2 separate regions of the Homo sapiens genome follow, and region 2 is linked to region 1. The links are contacts of gene promoters, found by promoter capture Hi-C in blood cells and fetal thymus (Javierre and others, 2016). All regions are on one chromosome and are shown on one strand. The core of a region is centred on a gene start or on the middle of the fragment in contact, and the rest is flanking DNA. Distances in the headings are between cores, read along the strand shown. Region 1 holds the start of HNRNPA3 (heterogeneous nuclear ribonucleoprotein A3). Region 2 overlaps PDE11A (phosphodiesterase 11A).

The links. The method cuts DNA at HindIII sites, captures the fragments that hold promoters and counts their contacts. A CHiCAGO score of 5 or more calls a contact.
Region 2: a contact is called between a fragment that was not itself captured here and the fragment with the promoter of HNRNPA3 in region 1, in 1 of 17 cell types (fetal thymus). The highest score is 5.4, in fetal thymus.

The regions. Positions count from the first base shown.
Region 1 is chr2:177,211,434-177,214,102 of GRCh38, reverse strand. It overlaps HNRNPA3 (heterogeneous nuclear ribonucleoprotein A3), which reads right to left and starts at 1,309. Exons shown (of 11, transcript NM_194247.4): 1 at 1,232-1,309. The coding sequence starts at 1,303. MIR4444-1 (microRNA 4444-1) reads right to left here and starts at 1,377; the gene lies at 1,304-1,377. It overlaps LOC105373759 (a long non-coding RNA gene), which reads left to right and starts at 1,692. Exons shown (of 1, transcript NR_157853.1): 1 at 1,692-2,669. RefSeq lists an enhancer at 671-1,342 and a silencer at 882-1,671. The HindIII fragment of the contact is 9,993 bases long and covers 1-2,669 here.
Region 2 is chr2:177,723,418-177,726,086 of GRCh38, reverse strand. All of the region lies in intron 12 of PDE11A (phosphodiesterase 11A), which reads left to right. Among named protein-coding and RNA genes, the nearest start is that of PDE11A-AS1, 51 kb to the right of the region's middle. The HindIII fragment of the contact is 1,097 bases long and covers 798-1,894 here.

The DNA.
Region 1 (2,669 bases), core at 60-2,559:
TTTCCTTCACCCGAAGTTCTTAAATAAGGGGCTCACATTTACATTCTAATGTCTTCCTGTGTCTCCTAGAGGTAGAGATGTTAAACCGTTTAATGTGAAGAGATTGTCACATGCTAGAAAAAAACGTTAATAGCCTAAAGCATTAATTCATGTAATCTCATCTTTTCAAGTCTTGGATAAATGTATTCGATTGACAATAACGAAATCGACAAAAATATTTAGGATCCACATTAAATGTACTGCAAAAACGTGAAAATTTCAACTCTGGTTGCAGTCCTCTAAATAAAATTCCAGGAAACTACAACCAGAGCCGACTCAAAGAATGGGAAAACATGAAGATAAAAAACATTTCTAAATTCTTCCTTAACATACTATACTCAAATTCTTCTCCACCCACCCTCCTCAGCGGCCGGAGCCGGGAAGGAGCTGGCTGGGTTGTTTTTCACATCTACACTCAAATTCTCAAAAATTAAGTCCTTCGCCCACATGGCGGTTTAAGAAGTGTAATGTAAGTACTTTAGCAAAAATATATCAGGAAGTATTTTAAAGCAGCAAAGTTTTTAACAATCTCGTATTTCCAACAGGATGCTGCGAAAAAAAGAAAAGGCCAATTATCGACTTCTCGCGGAGAGGACCCGTAAAAGGCCTAGAAAAGCGTCGGCAGAACTTCAGCGAAAGCACTACCTCCCCATGCTTCGAGGCCATTTGCGGCTTTTTCTGCCGGGCCGCCTCCGCCCTCTTCCCTCCAATCCCAGGCTCGCTTTCCCGGCGGCAGAGCGAGGCGGCGGCCATTGCGGGCCAATGCGCCATTTCGTAACGCGGCGGCGGATCAATGTCAATGTGGCCGCCGCCCGCTTGCTCGCTCGCCCGGATGTGCCTGCTCGTCCCCTCCCCTCCCCCACCACCTCCTCCCAACCGCTCCCGCCGGGGCCCGCCATGCCGCCCTCGGCCTCGCTTCGGAGGCCGCGCAGCCGGCAGGCCGGCTTCCCTCCCGAGGCCTCCCCGACCAAGCCGCGCCTCCAAGGGGCCGCCTGTGCAGCCGAAGGTGAAGGCGAGGCGGGCGAGGGGCCCCAAGGAGGTCTCCAACTCTCGCTCCCCTCCCCCTCCCACAGCCTGTCTCAACGCAAGAGCGCGGGACGGCCGACCCGGTCCACCCGGCCTCCCCGCTCCCACCGAACCAGGCCCCCAACGCCGGCCATTCCCCACCAACCCCCCGCTCTCCCCCTAATACCTCCTCCCCCCGGCGGCGACGGCGACGGCCGGAGTCGGGCTGGGGGCGACCGGGCGGCGGTTTTACCTCCATTTTGAGACCGGACTCGCCTCTTCCAACTCGAGTTCAATATGGGACCGAGAGGAAGAGGCGGGGCCAGTCGTCACGTGACGCGTTTTCCGCGCGCCGCCAGTCTGTTGGGGGAGGAGCGAATTGGGAAGGGGGCGGAGCCAAGCGGGCGCGAAGAGGGACTGGACCAGCGGGTTGGCGGGCGGAGGGCGGAGGCGCGGCGTGCCGCGGGAGCGCGCGCGCCTCGCCAGCTTTCAGGGGAAGAGGGCCTTTGCCGCCGTTCGCGTCAGGGCGAGTTCCGGGACGTCAGTGCGGTCTCCGCCAATGGTGAGCGTCCACGTAGAGGGAACGCCTTGTGATCGCGCGTCACCAGAGAGAAAGGCCTTTCCCTTTCTTCTCGCGCTTGTCCCTCATTCCCCACGCAGGCCTCTAGTTCTCCATTTCAGAATTCATTCTATTCCTGTGCCCGAAATAAAACCCACGTTTTTCTTGCTTGTAATTTAAAGGTTGCAAGAAAAACTCCTCGGCCCCTCGGACCATCTTTCCTGTTTCCAAATGCCGGGGACCAGTGTCTGTGACTGCGCCGCCTGCCTGAGGGCATGTACTGAAAAGCCCTGCGACTCCAACATGTGGGACTCACAAGCACCTTGGACAGGCCTCAAAACGCGGCTGACATACAGAATTTTTACCATTAACGACCTGAGGCAGGACTGGTGGAGGTCAGTTCATTAGTTACTGATCTCAAGAAACAAGTCAGGACTATTTTCTAATGTGCTTCTTTCAAGTTAGTGTGGAAAGAGCTGATGCATCTGTTGTAGCTGACGGAATTTAAGGAACTGAATAATTGACAAGATTTCCAGAAAAGCAGGGTCGCCAGATAATGCTACCTGTTTGCGAATGATTGTTACCGTAATGCTCTAGAGAGCTAATCCTTTCTCGGCCTAGTCAGATGATTTTAAATCATTTGATTTTACAGAGCTTTAGTTTCAGTTTTTTAAATGAAAATGGGGATGGGATTAGGTCATCTTCTAACACCCACGACAGCCATAAATTGATAATCTATGGATCCATATTTAAAGTTACTGATAAAAATAACCACAATTGACCAGCCTCCCTTCCCTGTTAGGAAATGCTTTATATTTTAATTTAGCAACCCATGTGACCAACCCTTTTAGAATTGAACTGGCTCTCCCTAGGAAAGGTTAGAAATCTAATCAGTTATAGTAAGTTTCTGTTAACAAATGGGGAGTGGTCGACTTGGAGTTTGGAAAAGGGGAGCGTAAAGTCTAAAAGTTTGTTAATTTATCTAGCCGTTGCTCCAGGAGGACCTGTGTTATAGTTTGGAAACATTTACAAAGGGTATTTTTGTGGGGCAGAAAACAGTTAGCAG
Region 2 (2,669 bases), core at 97-2,596, 510 kb before region 1:
AATCTTCATTTTGTTTTTCCATATCCTACCTCAGTAAACAAGGTATAATGTTTTGTGTACAGATTTCATATGTCTGGCCCACAGAGGACATTCAATAAAAAACTTTTTAACCCATTATTTGGGAAAACCTATGGATTTATGCGAATTGCCAAAATAAGTAAGTAGGAACCCTGTTCAATGAAGGAAAAAGAAATGGCTGTGACATTTTTGAGTTAGAAATGTCAAGGACAGAGACAGATTTTTATAACAAACCTTAAAATAGTTGGAATAGGGGAAACTGGCAAGAGCAGCAGGGTCACAGTGGACACTTAGGAGCAAAAGGAAATATATATCCAGTTTTCTGCAGTGGGTATTTCCATTATATGGGCAATTTTGATCCTTTCCAAGAAATTGAAGAGAATAGAATTCTTAAACTATGTCACCACAATGGGGATGCTCATATCGTCAGAATATTTCCAGGGTACAGTTGTTTTTGCAAGTATGCTCAGCAATCTTGAAGAGCAGCATTGTTGGAGAAGGCTTAGGTTTTGTTTTTTTGCATTCATGCTAACACAGAAAGAGGAGACTTCATTGTCAAATTTCTCTAAGGAGGGTGGGTGGAGGAGATCACAAAACAAAAACATGACTTCAGAAAGAATACAACGTTATTTTGTTCTCCTTCACATTGTATTGAGTAGCCACATCTGGAAAAGATAGTATTTTCTGCTCATTAAATTTTGTTGAACTTAACTAAGGGTTACAGTCAGTTAAAAGTGTCAACATTTGTTTCTCTCTAACGTAAGTATCTTCTCCAAGCTTGACTCTGGTCAATCTGGTTAATCAGAATTTTTTAATTAAGAAAATAATTACAGAAGTAACAAAGACGACTCAATCAGTGTAGCTAAAAATAAATTTAACTCGCTCATCAATTCTCATCTCTGGAATGTGACTCGGCCTATGGTAAAATGATGCCCTATTTCTTACCACCAATGGGCACTCATGCTTTTGGCACTCCTGAAGATTCTAAAAGCCTTTCAATGTTTTGATCTTATCAGTGATTAAAATTCCATTCCAGTGATCTCATATTTCCTGTCTGTGGGTTGTGTTAGAACCAAAATTCTCTATTAATCTGGGGGGAAAAAAGAAAGAAAAGAAAAGAAACTCACCATGTACCAACCATTGGATTCAACCTGGGTCATGTCATAAGGCTAAGAAAGCACAGCGTGTGTGTGCTGAGGCTTCCTCTAGATGGCGCTCCAAGGCAAAGTTTCTCAGCTGGTTTCCAGAAAAGGGGGAAAAAACCTTACCCACCTTCCTTGAAAGTGCTTCTTTTCTTCTAGCACAGGGAATACTGAGGTACACACCCCACCACAAAATAAATGTTTTTCCTAAAAGAGATAGCAACAAAACCAGTCTGTCGGAAAAGAGCATCTCCCATCAGGATGGGCCTGTTTTATGACTGCCACCTTGCATACCGTGCTGTTAAAGTGAATAATAGTGTTCTCCGTGTGACCTTAAATCTGTGATTGTGTATTTTTCCAAGCCTATTGTCTCTGGGAATGGGGAAATGCATAGTTGTGTGTCACTGCTGAACAAATTTTGGCACCACGTACAACAGGACAAGCAAATTATAAATATATGCCCCAGCTTCCTAACCTTTAACCCTAAAATCACTTCACGGGTGGAAAATAAACTTATTGACTCAGCATTGTGTTTTGCAAAAGTATTCAGGTTCATGTGTAGGTAACAAAGCGGTTTTGTTCCTTTAGAAATTAAAAAAAAAAAGAACTACTGTGTAGGACAGGCAAATTGATATAAAATGATGAACATTTTATTCACTGGGAACCCTGTTAATGACTTATTAATTTGTTCCATGCCTCTGGTCTGAAATTTCACATTTATAAATTTGAAAGCTTCAATGTTATTCTTTGTTTTTAAAAAGATATTTAGATAGTTAAAATTTCCCAAATACTTTGAATTCCTCTGACAAATACAGTAGGTAGTGACAGTTATTATTTGTGGTTAAAATGAGGAAGAAAACCTGCAGATGAATGATCATCATATAAATTTTCTTTACTAATAGAAGTTTATAGAACAAATATTCCATCATGCACATACATAATAAATAAATTATAACTATAAATACATGATAAAAGATGAGGGACATATTTCTTATATTCACGATGTAGACTAGATATCGGAAATGACTCTGCTTTTGTTTGTATTCTGTAAAATAAAAGGCATGTAGTGGTGCCAAGGTTGCAGAGACATTTTTTTCGGTTTTATAAATGATGTATGAGCTCTGACAGATTTTCCAAGGGGAAAAAAAAAGATTTCTTTAAGAGTCAGTATTCTTTACTATCCCATAAATGTACTCATTAGCACTTTGAGCCATGCCCTGCATCCTGTAGGGTATCAATAAAGATTAATTGAATGAGTGAATTTAGTTTAGGGTAATATTATTCAAGGAACCATGTTGCTCAGTGTCCAGTTAAAAAAAGCTATAAAATGGTGAACAACTATTATTGCTTGAAATCTTGTTCTTTCTTCATATCACACTAAGGTTCAGCTAGGGTTCATATAGAATATTATGATCTTGCAGAATTCACTGGATATGAAAAGAGAAGAGCACATGATCACATTAAAATTTATGGTGGTGCAGGCAGCGTGGCGCTGGTGGGGAATTGCAG